Regions from separate parts of the Homo sapiens genome. Here all the other regions are linked to region 2. Evidence: promoter capture Hi-C in 16 types of primary human blood cells and fetal thymus (Javierre and others, 2016). All regions are on one chromosome and are shown on one strand. Each heading gives the region's core, a stretch centred on a gene start or on the middle of the fragment in contact. The rest is flanking DNA. Distances are from core to core; before and after follow the strand shown.

Region 1 (3,934 bases), core at 210-2,709, 280 kb before region 2:
AATTGCTGAAATCTGGATTTGTTTATTTTCTTTTCTTTCTCTTTCTCTCTTTTTTTTTTTTTGAGACAAGTTTCACTATGTTGCCCAGCCTGGTTTATTCTTGGGTTCAAGCAATCCTCCCACCTCAGCCTCCCAAAGTGCTGAGATTACAGGTATGAACCACTGTGCTCAGTCTTGGATTTGTTTCTAATTGAAGGAAAGAAAGAAAAAGAAGAGGAAAGAAAGAAGAGGAAGGAAGGAGGGAGGGAGGAAGAAAAGAAGGAAGGGAAATCTCTGCCAACCTTATACCACCCATGGATTCAGTCTGCTTAGAATGGCTCCTACAGAATGGACTAGTAAGGTCCATATCTCCCAGGAATGACTTAAAATGATGGGGTGGTAGAAGGGAACTCAGAAACAAAACACACATTGAGTTTTCAGAAGGCACCAAAAGATCCTGGAAGAGACCTAAAATAGGAAGGCACGGGCTAGGGGAAACTAAGAATGTGAGGTGTGGGGTTCATGGCTAGGGGACCCTACCGGCCCACAGCCATCCTTGTATTCTCCTAGGTGTAACTCAACCTAGGTGCATTTGTAACTCAATATATTACCCATCCGTGTATGCTTGTATTTTAAAAGGGGGAGCATCAAGTAGATACCATTTAACCCAAAAGAATGAACCCAGAAAAACTAGCAGCCATGTAGTCGATACTGTCACTCAAATCATATTTTAAAAAATAATAGTCGGCCGGGCGCGGTGGCTCACGCCTGTAATCCCAGCACTTTGGGAGGCCGAGGCGGGCGGATCACGAGGTCAGGAGATCGAGACCATCCCGGCTAAAACGGTGAAACCCCGTCTCTACTAAAAATACAAAAAATTAGCCGGGCGTAGTGGCGGGCGCCTGTAGTCCCAGCTACTTGGGAGGCTGAGGCAGGAGAATGGCGTGAACCCGGGAGGCGGAGCTTGCAGTGAGCCGAGATCCCGCCACTGCACTCCAGCCTGGGCGACAGAGCGAGACTCCGTCTCAAAAAAAAAAAAAAAAAAATAATAATAATAATAATAGTCGACCAGGCGTAGTGGCTCACATCTGTAATCCCAGCACTTTGGGTGGCTGAGGTAGGCAGATCACCTAAGGTCAGGAGTTCAAGACCAGCCTGGCCAACATGGAGAAACCCCCGTCTCTACTAAAAATACAAAAAATTAGCCAGGCGTGGTGGCAGGCGCCTGTAATTCCAGCTACTCAGGAGGCTGAGGCAGGAGAATGGCTTGAACCTGGAAGGCAGAGGTTGCAGTGAGCCGAGATCGCACCATTGCACTCCAGCCTAGGCAACAAGAGCAAAACTCCGCCTCAAATAATAATAATAATAAAATAATAATAATAATAATAATAGTCTTGAGATAATCCCATGGGGACAGATAGCAGCATCACTACCCCATCTACGGAAGAGAAGATGGAGCCTCAGGGGAATCAAGTTCCAACCACAAAACTTCTCACTGTTTCAGTCGGCTTTACCCTGCACAACTGGCTAGTTGCAGAGTTTGTGGCATCTGAGCAGATAAATCTTTTTTACCGTGTGCAGGGGTTGTGTTGGTTGTTGGTTGCTGGTTGTTGTTGTTGTTGTTGTTGTTTTCAGGGTCTACTTAACTCATGGAGCATGGGACACTCTGCTGTAGCTGATTGTTACCATGCAGGAATGTAGGTCCAGGTCTTCCAATTTTTTAAGAGAATTTGGACATTTCTATTAGCACACAAGGCCTGATATTTTGATATTGGTTCATCTGGAAAAAAAAGAAATCAAAACATTGTGCGAACTAGGTACACTGGCCGTCAGTGTGAGACGTCTGCTTTAGCTCTATGTACTTGGCCTGGAGAACTCATCTCTTTTGTCTGCTTCCCTCCATCCGAATCATTTGCACTTTCTGGGGGGAATCTTGCAAATGAAAGATGGCAAGGGAAATTTGGTTTTTGTTTTTGTTTTTTTTTTAGCATCCAGAATTCCAGTGAGCTTGATAGTAGGTAGCTGGAGGGTGTGGGGGCAGGGCAAGGAAGAGCAAGGAAGGAGGGGGAGATGCCTGTGAAGGAGAGGAAATGAAAGCGCAGGAGCTGACAGCACTCTTAGTAAATATTAAACAGTAATGAAACAAAGAGTAATAGGCCACAGAAACTGCGATAAGAATGCCAGTCGTTTACTATATTTCAGCACGCAGCTGGGTACCAGAGCTTAACACATCTCTTCTGACATTGCAGACAGTTTCACTATGCTAGGAGCAAAAACCTGAGTAATAAATAAAAAGCAAATGTGTTTGCTATTGAAGAAATAAATGAATGGTAGAATGAGAATGACAAAAGAATGAAAGAGAGAAATTCTATTTCCATCATTCTAAATAGATGTTACATCTCATGACAGATAAGAGTTCATTAATTAGCAGCAAGAGATTTTGGAAATAACCATAGTATAAATGGTCTCTGCTTTGCATTTGGTAATGAAAGTGCTTTGAATGTGACGCTTTAGTAATTCAGACACAATATTTCTTAGTTTCTATTGTGTACGAAGTACCAGGCACTGTGGGGAGAGGCATGGGAAATGGTGGGTGTAATCCTTTCTTCTGAGCAGTTTACAGTCTGGTGGTATTAGATTTTCAAGAAGGACGAAGCTCCCCCCAAAAGTCCATGTGAAATCTTAAGCAGTTTCAAGCAATAAAAAAGCTATGTGCTAGATACCTTTTCCAGAAAACATATCACTTTGCATTCATCTGAACATAATTCAAACCACATTTACCAAAACTCTGGTTACTCTGTTATACAGCCACTTTGCTTTTATGTTTCTGTAAGAAAATGCAAAGAATAGCACTTTTTTGGAAACATCTTTAAGATTTTTTTTTTTTTTTTCTGAGACGGAGTCTTTCCCTCTGTCCCCCAGGCTGGAGTGCAGTGGCGCGATCTTGGCTCACTGCAACCTCTGCCTCCTGGGTTCAGGTGATTCTCCTGCCTCAGCCTCCTGAGTAGCTGAGACTACAGGCACCCGCCACCATGTCTGGCTAATTTTTGTATTTTTAGTAGAGATGGGGTTTCACCATGTTGGCCAGGATGGTCTCGATTTCCTGACCTGATGATCCACCTGGCTCAGCCTCCCAAAATGCTAGGATTACAGGCGTGAACCACGGCGCCTGGCCAAGATTTTTTTTTATAGCTTTTTTTTTTTAACGGATGAGTTCTTGCTCTGTCACCCAAGTTAGCATGTAGTGTTATAATCATAACTCACTGCAGCCTTGAACTCCTGGGTTCAAGTGATCCACTCACCTCAGCCTCCTGGGTAGCTTGTGACTACAGGCACACACCATGGCTAATTTTTTATGTTTTGTAGAGATGGGGTTTAGCCATGTTGCCCAGGCTGGTCTCGAACTCCTGGGTTCAAGCAATCCTCCTGCTTCAGCCTCATAAAGTGCTGGGATTACACGTGTGAGCCATCATGCCTGGCTATCTTAACATTTTAAACAATAAAATGCTGTTTACATTTATCCAATCTTAAGGCTCTCTGAGTCTGGGCTGTTACTGGATATGGTGATCCTTACTCCTAACCCATCCCCCTTTCTTCCCCCTCCCTTCTTTTTATATTATACTCACACTATCATGAATTGCAGACATATTTATTAAAAATGCTATCACACCTCCCTTTCCATTCTTTTCCCTTTCAATACAGCAGGCCTGTCCTCAAGTTAGGGAGTCACACCTGTCCACTTCTCAAGCCTGACAGTAGTTATCAGGAAGCACATTTCAAAAAAAAAAAAAAAAAAATACAGTGGTGGCAGTACCACCCAGTGAGAAGAATGAATTCCAAATGCTGTCAAAATAAAGACTGGTTTGATTAATGCCAGCATTCACTTTATTTTCATGGCTTCCCCTGCAGGGTCAAAAAGAGCAGCCCAGGGCCAGAGAATATGTGTTGACACTAA
Region 2 (4,117 bases), core at 603-3,102:
CATTCAAATGGCTTTAAATGTCCTTGGCAAGAGCTGTCAAAGTACAGACACCTGTAACATGCTCCTTCCGCTCCAGGCTTTGTACCCCTGATGGAGTCTGGGTTACAGGGAGGGAAGGGACGAAATTACACACCTTAGGTCCGAAGTAATTCTACCATTCTGAGAAGGTACATGGCATCACTAATACTCAGCCTAACAAAAGGCATAGAATTCCCACTCAAATTATAAGGCTTGTTAGCCTAAAGAAAACATGAGAATTTAACTTGGGGAGTTTAAGGTCCTCACAATATGCCTTCCATGAGCGCGCGTGCACACACACACACACGTTTAATTTTCACATGACCACAGTGAGAGACTGTTTTAAATGATGGAATTCAAGAAAAGCAAAATCTAGAACATAAAACTTAATCCAGAATTTATTTCAAAGTTTCACTTGAAACTTTTAAAGGTTTATTATACTGGGTCTAGATCTGTTTAACAGTGAACTGTTTTTGCAAGACATTTTGGCCAAAAAGCACCTAGCATAGTGTCAGAATTGGGAGTTGGTGCTCAATTTTAAAATGTGTTGAAAAATTGTTAAATAAACTTCTCAACATACCTGTGCTCAAAGGCAATATAGGACATTTTAAGGCGTCTTTTAAAAGTTAGCCCTTGAAATCAGAATAGCATAGGGATTTTAAAGACTGGAATCTGTGGTCAAACTGCTTGGGTCAAAACACAGGCTCTACCACTGACAGCTGGATTTTGGGCAAGCCGCCTAAGTTATCTGTGACTTTAAGTTTCCTCACCTGTAAAATGGGAATTATAATAGCACCCACCTCACCGCATTGTCAGAAAAGTAAACGACAGAAATCAACATAAAGCATTTTAGGTAGTAAGCTCTCCATAAATGCTATCAATATTCAAAGGTATGTGTTCGAGAGATCAAATCTATTAAATATACATATCAGCTTTGATCAATTGAAATCTCGGAAATTTCATAATTGCATCTTACTCCCCCTTTCCACACATCATGCGGCATCAACCTTCCACATGATGTGGAAATTACATACTTTCATTCATCCGTTTGAGAGCTTGTCATATATGGCAAGAAAGAAGAAAGATGCCTTTTTCGTGACTGTTGCTCCTTCAGAACTTCAAAACACTGTCACGTACACAATAGGTTGGAGCTGCCCTCAAAATGACAGCTCACAGCTTTGCTGGGCCCGCAGAGGTGCCCAGGCGGCTCTGCCCGGAAGGGGTTCACCCCAATAACCGGAGAATCTCCGGTCGCCACAGCCAAGCACAGCGCACGCCCGGGAACCCCAAGGAACACAAGAGAACTCTGAAATGGGGAAGGACCCTGAGTTGTGGAGAAAGAGCGGGAGGAAGGGTCACGGAGGGTCCGGAGCCACACTCGGATCAGGCGCGTCCACGCTGACAAGCCCGGGACCAGGTGCCGGCGATAGGCAGCGCCGTCCTGGACAGTCCCTTCCCTTTCCCCTACCCGTCCCCTCCCCGGCGAGCACCGAAGCCAACTCGGGTCCCGCGCCAGAATTGCCCCCCGGCGCCCCCTCACCTAAAGGCGGGTCCTTCCTTAGGAGCCCTGCCCTGGGCAGACGCCGCCGCGGAGCTGCCGCTGCTGCCCCTTTTGTTGAAGAGCTTCTGGAGCAGGGTCGGGGCCATGATGCCGCCGCCGCAGCTCCGGCCGTGGCGCTCGGGGGGCCGGCGGCTCAGCGCGCAGCCGGGGGCGGCGGCCGCGGTGGCGGGGCCATCGCGGCGGCGCGGCCGCCCAGCCTTGCGGGAGCGCGGGGCCGCTGCGACTGAGTAACTCTGCTCGGCGCCGGAGCCGCCGGCTGCCGGTCATATGACTGAGCCGGCCCGCCACCGCCTCGCGCGCTGACAGTTATCTCCTGCGGGAGGAGCCCGCAGCCCCACGGCGGCGGCGGCGGCGCGGGAGGAGCGCGGCGGCCCCGGCGGCGGCCATTGGCCCGGCGGCCGCCCGCCCCGGGCTCACGTAACCCCGGCGGGAGGCGGGAGGTGGGAGGTGCGGCCAGGAGCGGGCGGGCGGCCCAGTACTCCGGGCACGCGGGGGACGCGGACGGGGGCAGGCGCGGCACTTAAAGGGGCCCGAGGGGCGAGGGCGGCCGCCGGGGCGCAGCTCCGCGAGTGGCGTGGGGTTCCCACGGAGCCTGGGTTCTTTCGCACAGCGAGCATGCAGCTAGGCCGATCTTTGTTCTTTAGAGACAAAGCCCCTGAACTTGGGTCCTCGCTTTGTTCAGGTACAAGAGCCCGTTCACAGAAGGCGTATGCTAGGGGGGAAGGCTTGGTACGCGCGGTGGCCGCTTCGGTGGGCTGTGATTTGAATCACATAGCACCCAAGGTTTTGTCAGGTTTCCTCCATGTCCAAATTCGATTCCTCCAGGCTTTCACAAAATTTAAACTGTTTATCCAAATCATTTGTTCTGTTTGGCGTCTTGGGCCACCATACCATGGTTATATAAGAAGTTGCATTTGAAATATTAAGTCCCCCCTTTAAAACATACACACACACACACACACACACACACACACACACACACAGAACTCACTACATAGATTTAGAAACTTAAGATATTTTATAGCAAGGGATTGTTTTTCCTAATACATATTTAACAGTCAATCAAGGCATATCAGCAGCAGATATTTGGTTTGAGGAAGGGAGGAGTTCATGTGTTTGAGTCCGCTTTCCTGCCCTGTCCCACCCCAGTCCCCTTTGGAATTTAATCCTTGGTGGTGCAGGGCTCTAAACAGCCAGTGTAGGACACGTTACCAGACTCAAAGCAACTTCTTAATCTATGTTTTAGAGCGTTGGGCTTCACGAATTTTTCCGATGATGGGAAATAGAGATAAAGTTAGTAAGACCCCAACCATGCCTCTTCTAGCTTCTCCATGAGTAGTGAACAGTGACTCACCTGGGCTCTCTTACACTTGTTGAGAGGAGGACTCTTGGAGACTCAAAAAGGAAAATATATTTCCAAAAACATAAGTAATCAAAAGAACCTATTCTGGGCCTATTTTACTTTGCATTTTCTTTTTTTAATTGTGTTAGTTTCTGGACTTGGTTGGGAACTAGCTGTGAATAATGTGCTGAAATTTCACAAAGGTAAGAGAAAGGTGGTAGAAATGGAAACTTAGTCATTTGTTTCCTTCGGACTTTTACTGTTAAAATGGTGGATTAAGTGTTTATCCTGATGAGCAATCATCCTTTTGCACAATTGAGTGTACACAGAACCCTAATTTGCAACTTTGCTATTTCTGTTTGCTGAAGGCCTTTACCTCATAGGGCTGCCAGTGTTGGTCAGGATGCTATATAGAAGGTATTGGCTTTATACGTTGTGACTTTCAGATACAGTCCCAGGTCATACTGTGGCCAGCAACTCACCACCTTTCCTTACTCCATCCTTGGTCAGAAAATGTCCTTTATTCTCCAGACTAAAATCTGCATGTTCCTCATGAGCCTAGCAGCTTTTGTAACTGCATATAGAAGAGGAATTTGACATATTGTGCCTCATTCCTCACTTCCTAGGACTCTTTCAGTTCCAACCCAGTCCAAATAGACAAGATCATCCAAAAGAGGCAATTAAAAAATCATAACCTGCTCTAGCCATCATCTTCAATTTTGGTTTTGACTAGGCAACTATAAAGGAAGAGTGTGTATTTTAAACTATTAAAGCCAGGACTTCAGTTAAAGGAGACAAAAGGAACCAAAATGCTTCCCTTCTCCCCTCTTTCTCCCTGTGCTTCCTCTCAGCATCACATTCTTCCTCATCCTGGTTCTGGCCACACCTCCTCCTTTGGATTTTTAAAGTATACAAAAATCCTAGCCAAAAAAGTTCTGGGAGACAGCTCTAGCCAGCTCTCCCAGTCTTCTTGTTTTTTATTTTTATTTTATTTTATTGGCTACTCAAGGCCGCTACAAAAATCCAATCTTTTGCCCATCATCCATTGGTCATTGCCTGGTCCCTGAGGCTTGTCATAATCTCAGTCTCCAACACTGGTCACGTGGCCCATCGCCCAGTTCCATACATCTCCTTTATTCACCTCTTCCCACTCACCCTATCTTGGAAAATATACCAGCTGGCTGTTCTTGTACGCA
Region 3 (3,963 bases), core at 488-2,987, 360 kb before region 2:
CTATTCAGCAATAAAAAGAAGCAAACCATTGATACATACAACACTATGGCTGAATCTCAAAAGCTTGTGCTTAGTGAAAAAAGTCATGCAAAAAAGACTGTACACTATATGACTCCATGTACAGTACAAGACATTCTTAAAAAGGCAAAACTATAAGGATAGAAATCAGATCACTGGTTGCCAGAGACAGGCTAGACGGAGAGGACTGCCTACAAAAAGGCACAAAGGCACAAGGGACCTTTTCTGGGCAATGAAAATGTCTTAATTTTGATTGCAGTTGCAGTGGTGACATGACTGTATACAAATTAAAACTCACAGAATTGCCAGGCGTGGTGGCTCACACCTGTAATCCTGGCACTTTGGGAGGTCCAGGCGGGTGGATCACTTGAGGTCAGGAGTTCAAGACCAGCCTGGCCAACATGGTGAAACCCCATCACTATTAAAAATACAAAAAATTGGCCAGGCGCGGTGGCTCACGCCTGTAATCCCAGGACTTTGGGAGGCCGAGGCGGGCGGATCACAAGGTCAGGAGATCGAGACCATCCTGGCTAACACGGTGAAACCCCGTCTCTACTAAAAATACAAAAAATTAGCTGGGCGTGGTGGCAGGCACCTGTAGTCCCAGCTACTCGGGAGGCTGAGGCAGGAGAATGGCATGAACCCGGGAGGTGGAGCTTGCAGTGAGCCGAGATCATGCCACTGCACTCCAGCATGGGTGACAGAGCCAGACTCCGAAAAATAAATAAATAATATACAAAAAAGTAGCCACGCGTGGTGGCAGGCGCCCGTAATCCCAGCTACTCGGGAGGCTGAGGCAGGAGAACTGCTTGAACCTGGGAGGTGGAGGGTGCAGTGAGCTGAGATCGCACCACTACACTCCAGCCTGGGAACAAGAGCAAAACTCTGAAAAAAAAAAAAAATTCATACAACTTTACACTTAAAAAGGTTAATCTTACCATATATATTACAAGTTTATATTTTAAAAATAAAGGAAAAGAAATGCACTAATACAATGCTAGTAGTCCTGTAAGCCACTTCTACAACAACAAGCAAAATTAGAAATGCAAGCACACTTTGGCCCAGCAGAAATTTTGCAGGTCAGGTATGTGAGGGGTATTCATTGCAGCCCTGTGATATTCTGTAATGGTTAATCACACACACAGGAGCTCTTCATGTACTGATATGGAAAGATCAGTATACATCTTTCCAAACTATACTTTACATTAAATAAATAAAAGGGCAGATATGTATGTAGATATAACTTGAGAAGAAGAAAAATATGTTTTTATGGATCTGTGTATGAATTTTTTTAATTTTTGGGAAGAATAAACAAGCAATGAAAATCACTCACTACCAGAAGGGAACTGGGAGTTAGGCAGGTGTGGGAGAGGAAAGTAAGACTGCACTGTATAACTTTTTATACTTTTTGACATGTGAACTATGCAAAAAAAAAAAAACTAAGTATATAATATTTAAAATATTAATTTAGGTACAAGTTATAAACATTTCTAGAACACTAAAAACATTCCAGAAAGAAAAAACATTATCATATACACTTAAAACGCACATAACTTTCAACTACCAAAAGAAAATGAGCAATCAACGTAAAAGACTGTATTTAACCTTTCTTTCTGACCCACCACCCACAAAAATGAAGAAAATAAGGAGTGTGAGAAATAGACAACAAAGAATGGTTTGGAAGAAAAAGCTATAATTTAGAAAAAGGAGGCATAAATGAGAAAAGTCAGATTTTAAAAAGCCAACAACTTGCCACGCCTTTAAAAACCATCTACCTCTTTCTGTCCTGGAGTACGGTGCTCATCTATCCCTAAAGGAGAGACAGCCCTTTCTATGTCTTGTAAGGACCAAAGAGAAACAAACAAGACTCCTTGCCACAGACACAAGGAGACACTGTCCTCTACAACCAAAGGACTCAAAAACATCATTTAAACACAGATACACACACCCATCACAACCATAGGATCTGGATGGATTATTTTAGAATTTCGGAAGAACTTAAGTCTCCTTGAGAGCCCACATTCCAAAATCTAGCAAAGTAACTCTTTCATTCTGCAGTTGAGACTGTGAAGTACGATCATAAAATGGTGTTAGAGCTAGATAACCTGAAGATAACGTACTTCTGTGCAAGACACAGGCTTATGAATATATCTGAATAAATGTTTCTCAATTCTTGATAAATTCTAGACCAACTAGCCCCTCTCTAAATAGTGTGGTCCAATAACAAAGTTCACCCTCAAGCTAAGACATTATCCTAATGGCAACAGTTAGATAAGCAAAAACACCGGGAATATTTTACTCTCCAACTTGATAGTTTCAAACAATATACCCATTAAAATCTGGACTTTTGTTGCAAGTATCCAGATTTGAATCTGGATCCTCTTGGTAAGGAGACTGTAACTTCCCACACATTTCCTCTGGCTTTTTCAGTTAGCATAGAGAACCAAAGTTCCCACCTATGGCCCTACAAAGAAAGGCTAAGTATTAACAAAGTAATTCTATGTTAAAACTTCTTAAGGAATGGAAATATCGAGTATGCCAAGTCTTTGTTTCTGACAAACAAGGAGATGCCGGGCTGTAGGACTGCTGAGAAAACCCGATAACTTTCCCAAGTACACAACAACGCGAAAGACGTTAATCAAGCCCAAAGTTCTCTAGCCCAAGGTTCCCAAAGCCCAAAGAACTTTAACTGCACTTAGCACTTATATTTCTCTTCAACTAGTAAAAACTCCAAATAGTATAGCTGACTGAACAAAAACAACAACAGCAAAAGCTAAAAAAAAAAAAAAAAAAAAAAAAAAATAGCAATTAATCAGACAAAGATATCAAGATAATACATTTAAGTCTTTAACATAGTATCTGCTGACAAAATCAGCAATCAATCAATCTTAAACGTTATTAAAACCATGCGAGGCTGGGCGCGGTGGCTCATGCCTGTAATCCCAGCACTTTGGGAGGCCAAGATAGGCGGATCACCTGAGGTTGGGAGTTCGAGACCAGCCTGACCAACATGGAGAAACCCTGTCTCTACTAAAAATACACAATTAGCTGGGTGTGGTGGCATATGCCTGTAATCCCAGCTATTCAGGAAGATGAGGCAGCAGAATCGCTTGAACCTAGGAGGCGGAGGTTGCGGTGAGCCGAGATCGTGCCATTGCACTTCAGCCTGGGCAACAAGGGCGAAATTCTGTCTCTCTCTCTCTCTCTCTCTCTCTCTCTCTCTCACACACACACACACAAAACAACACGCGAAACTCTGTATTATTTTCAAATAAACCTGGAGAGTAAAACATGCTATTTAAAAAGGTAAAGTTAAAATAATAATAGCTGGCTGGGTGTGGCTGCGCCTGTAATCCCAGCACTTTGGGCAGATTGCTTGAGCCCGAAAGCTTGAGACCAGCCTGGGCAACATGGTGAAACCCCGTCTCTACAAAAAATACAAAAATTAGCCAGACGTGGTGGTGCCCGCCTATGGTCCCAGCTACTTGGGAGGCTGTGGTGGGAGGACACCTGAGCCTGAGAGGCGGAGGGTGCAGTGAGCCGAGATTGTGCCACTGCACTCCAGCCTAGGCAACAGAGCAACATCCTGTCCCAAAAAATAAAATAAAATAAAACAATAATAGATAACTTTTATTTAGAGTAATTTATTCGCTAAGCCTGGGTCTAAATTAAAAGAAGCCCTTCCAGTCCTACTCTACTAACTCTAATTGTTTAAAAATTTTTAATTTTAATAAAATTAGACTTTAGATCCGAAATTCATCTCTAAAATAAAAATGACCTAGCAGAGAAATTTGAATAAAGAAAAATGTGCATGCCTGTAGTTCTAGCTACTTGGGGGGCTGAGGTGGGAGGATCACTTGAGCTCAAGAATTTAACACTGCAGTGAGCTATAATCACACCACTGCAATTCCACCTAGGTGACAGGGCAAGACCCTGTTGTCAGAG
Region 4 (4,030 bases), core at 901-3,400, 260 kb before region 2:
TGCAAGACATTCTTTTTGAAATGTTGAAAGACAGTGGTGACTGAGCCTGCCAGATTATCTGGGACATAAGCTGGAACTGGATCTAGTACCTGTGAACAAGTGTATTCTGACTTGATATTGACAAATAAGGAAAAGTTATTACTGGATGCAAGTTCTGGGAAGACTATAGCAGTATCTGTCTCTGCTCTTGGAGATTGGAATGCAGAACTCTGCAAGGAGGAACATTCTATCTCCCTGTCATAAAGAGTCATTAGCAACCACCTGGTGCAGGTCACAAGCAGGGAGAGGAAAGACTGCAGAGTCTTTCGTTCTTTCTGGTGCAGCTTAACTGATTTGAAGAAGCCGAAGAAGAAAATCCAGTAGCACGGTTAAGACTTTAGCCATGGCATCTGTATCATACCAAAAGCCAACATCTACTACTGTGGGAAAACAAATGATTTTTACAGGTAAATAGTTTTTGTGTTTGCTTTCACAAGGAGATCTAAATTTGCTTTTTCTCTCACATATATGATTTTTATATAATGGATATAACAATGCAATGATCACATATGTTTTTTGTTTTTGTTTGTTTTTTGGGTTTTTTTTTTTGAGACAGAGTCTCGCTCTGTCGCCCAGGCTAGAGTACAATGGCGCGATCTCGGCTCACTGCAACCTCCGCCACCTGGGTTCAAGAGATTCTCCAGCCTCAGCTTCCTGAGTAGCTGGGATTACAGGCATCTGCCATCATGCCCAGCTAATTTTTGTATTTTTGTAAAGATGAGGGTTTCACCATGTTGGCCAGGCTGGCCTTGAACTCCTGACCTCAGGTGATCTGCCTGCATAGGCCTCCCAAAGTGCTGGGATTACAGGCATCAGCCACCATGCCCAACCCACCTACATTTAATTTACATGATACTGCTATCTCATTATGCCCACTCAGTCTGATCATCATCATCTTGTTGCCATAAACATGTCTTTAACACAGCAGTTGTCACTATATCTGAGGTAACTTTCACAAAGGAATATTTGAATTAGCATAGCTTTTATGGTTTGTGCAAGAGAAACTTCTTTGATGTAATAAAAAACATACTTTTCATCGAATTTTTATTAACACTGATTTAAGCTTCTCATAACATTATAAACTTGACATATTTGCTTGATAAAAATTTGAGCAGGATATGCATTAAACCTAGTAAAGTGATTGGTTTGAGTTTTGTTCATTCAGCTTACTTTAAATGATTTGGGCAGTGTGTGTGAAATTATAATAATATCTAAAAAATAGAAGATGACTAGTTGTGGTAAGTCTATAAGGCATAAACTAAACTTCATTTTATTTCCTTTTTTTCCAAATTATTTATTTTTTGAGACAGAGTCTCGCCCTGTTGCCCAGACTAGGGTGCAATGGCACGATCTGGGCTCTCTGCACCCTCCACCTCCCAGGTTCAAGTGTTTCTCCTGCCTCAGTCTCCCGAGTAGCTAGGACTATAGGCACATGCCACCACATGTGGTTGTTTATTTATTTATTTATTTTGTACTTTTAGTAGAAATGGGGTTTCACCATGTTGGCTAGGCTGGTCTCGAACTCCTGACCTCAAGTGATCCACCCACCTGTGTCGGGATTCCAGGCGTGAACCTGGCCTTTTTTTCTTTTTTTCCAAAGTGTGAGCATATTTTACAATGTTACAGAAAAATAATCAAATGCATATTTATGGTGGGCATTTATGATTTGTGTTGCTCATCATCCATCTCATCCACTCCCCTTCTTGTGACTCACTTGGCTTTGGGAAAAACATCTCTTTCCTCACTCTTACCTCTTTTTTACTCCTGTGAGAAGGACTTTGTCAACAAGAGTACACTGCTTATCTGCAATTCCTTTTGCCTTTATTCTTATAAACTCTATTCATTTCCAAAGTTACTTAAGTCTGCACATTTTCTTTCTAGCCTCTTCAGTAAGGTTGTTTTATGCACTTGTAATACAGTTAGATTTTCTTGTCACAGTCTGAATTCCTTCCTGAAATCCTACAATCTCGTAAATAATTTTTTTTAATTTGCATCCATTAAGGTTTGCTTTTTATGCTATTAAATATATGGGGGTCTTGACAAATTAATAGGACCATGTATTCACCATTATAGTACCATACGTTATGGTTTCACCACTTAAAAAATCTCTTGTGCTTCACCTATTCATTCCCCCCTCCCCCTTTCCCCCTAGCTCCTGGCAACCACTGATCTTTTCACTGTCTCCACAGTTTTGCCTTTTCTTGAATGTCACAGAGCTGGAGTTATACAGTATGTAGTCTTTTCAGATTGGCTTCATTTCCTCATCAATATCATTTTAAGGCTTCTCCACATCTTTTCATGGTTTGATAGCTTATTTCTTTTTACCACTGAATAATATTTCACTGTGTGGATGTGTCACAATTTGTTCATCCCTTCCCCTATCGAAAGACATCTTGGTGGCTTCCAGTTTTTGGCAATTGTGAGAAATGCTTCTATGTACATTTATGTGCAGCCTTTTGCATGGATATGTTTTCAAATCAATTTGGTAAATACCTAGGAGAGTAATTGCTGGATCCTGTGTTAAGCCAAACTGTCTTCTAAACTAGCTATACTATTTTGCATGTCCATCAGCAATGAATGAGAGTCCTTGTTGCTTTGTGTCCTTGTCAGCCTTTGGTATTGTCTGTTTTTGACTTTTTTACCAAAAAAAAAAAAAAAGAAAGGTCATTTAGATTTTTATCCTGTGTTTTCTTTTAGACATTTTACAATGTTACGTTTTCATTTAGGTCTATAATCTATTTTGAAGAGATTTTTGTGCCTTTTAAAGTTTTAATTTTCATCAGCCAATAAATCTCCTCTTTTCCTTAGCCAGTTTGGGTTGGGTTTTCTGTCATTTGGAACTGTGCAAGAGTCTTAATTAACACTTAAAATTTCTTCTAACTTACACCAGTGTATATACTTAGTTTTATGTATTTACATAGTTCAAATTGTTGTCACCTTTGATAGATTTCTGCCTTTCATTATACTGACATATAATACTTAGCTTCACAGCCTCCTGTATTTTATAATTTCCTAATTTTTACTGTTACAAATTTGTATGAATACTTTGCATAAATTATTTTTCTTGTTCTCTTATTTTCATGTGGTATATATAGAGAGAGCAGAATTAGCAGGTGAAAGATACAAACAGATATATAACTTATTAATGCCACAAGCTTTAGAGAATTGTATATACTATGAACAATGTATACGTATTTAAAGCCCAACAATTTTTTTTTTTGAGACAGTCTCCCTCTGTTGCTCAGGCTGGAGTGCAGTGGTATGATCTCAGCTCACTGCAGTCTCTCCCTCCAGGGTTCAAGTGATTCTCGTGCCTCAGCCTCCTAAGTAGCTGGAATTACAGACGTGAGCCACCATGCCCACTAATTTTTTGTATTTTTAGTAGAGATGGGGTTTCACCATGTTGGCCAGGCTGGTCTCAAACTCCTGACCTCCGGTGATCTGCCCGCCTCAGCCTCCCAAAGTGCTGGGATTACAGGCATGAGCCACCACAACCGGCCCCCATCAATATTTTTTAAAATCATTTTTATTACTTCAAAGAAGTAGATATGAATCCTTTTTTGCTTTTGCCTTTTACAAATTTTATTGTGACTATTTTAAAACACACGCCAATGAACTCCCACTTACCTGTCACCCATATTCAACATTTATCAAAATTTTGCCACATTTGACTCACATCTCTCGTATTTTTCTTGTAAAAATATTTTAAGCCCAGATATCATATTATTTCACTTACATATTTTATTGTGCATCTGAAAAAATATGAACATATTCTTACATAGTCACATTGCCGTGACTGCACCTAACAAAATTAATAACTATCATTTGGCATCATGTAATTAACAACTCCATAACAAAATTTTCCTGATTGTCTCTAAAATGTATTTTTACAGTTGATTTTGAGAATAAGGATCCAACACACATTGCATTCAGTTGTGTTTTCTCTTTTTGTCTATTTTAAACTGGTGCAGTCTTCCCTTCTTTTTTCCCT

The links. The method cuts DNA at HindIII sites, captures the fragments that hold promoters and counts their contacts. A CHiCAGO score of 5 or more calls a contact.
Region 1: a contact is called between a fragment that was not itself captured here and the fragment with the promoter of FNIP2 in region 2, in 2 of 17 cell types (non-activated CD4 T cells and total B cells). The highest score is 5.3, in non-activated CD4 T cells.
Region 3: a fragment that was not itself captured here is called in contact with the fragment with the promoter of FNIP2 in region 2 in 1 of 17 cell types (total CD8 T cells); the score reaches 8.6 in total CD8 T cells.
Region 4: a contact is called between a fragment that was not itself captured here and the fragment with the promoter of FNIP2 in region 2, in 1 of 17 cell types (naive CD4 T cells). The highest score is 5.0, in naive CD4 T cells.

The regions. Positions count from the first base shown.
Region 1 is chr4:159,050,047-159,053,980 of GRCh38, reverse strand. It overlaps a transcript of SPMIP2 not described here. Among named protein-coding and RNA genes, the nearest start is that of SPMIP2, 17 kb to the right of the region's middle. The HindIII fragment of the contact is 5,133 bases long and covers 1-3,934 here.
Region 2 is chr4:158,766,761-158,770,877 of GRCh38, reverse strand. FNIP2 (folliculin interacting protein 2) reads right to left here and starts at 1,852. Exons shown (of 17, transcript NM_020840.3): 1 at 1,559-1,852. The coding sequence starts at 1,665. RefSeq lists an enhancer at 1,207-1,944 and a silencer at 1,902-2,111. The HindIII fragment of the contact is 6,862 bases long and covers 1-4,117 here.
Region 3 is chr4:159,130,377-159,134,339 of GRCh38, reverse strand. All of the region lies in intron 1 of RAPGEF2 (Rap guanine nucleotide exchange factor 2), which reads right to left. Among named protein-coding and RNA genes, the nearest start is that of MIR3688-1, 3.5 kb to the right of the region's middle. The HindIII fragment of the contact is 3,344 bases long and covers 66-3,409 here.
Region 4 is chr4:159,031,449-159,035,478 of GRCh38, reverse strand. SPMIP2 (sperm microtubule inner protein 2) reads left to right here and starts at 250. Exons shown (of 5, transcript NM_152543.3): 1 at 250-446. The coding sequence starts at 383. The HindIII fragment of the contact is 2,092 bases long and covers 1,105-3,196 here.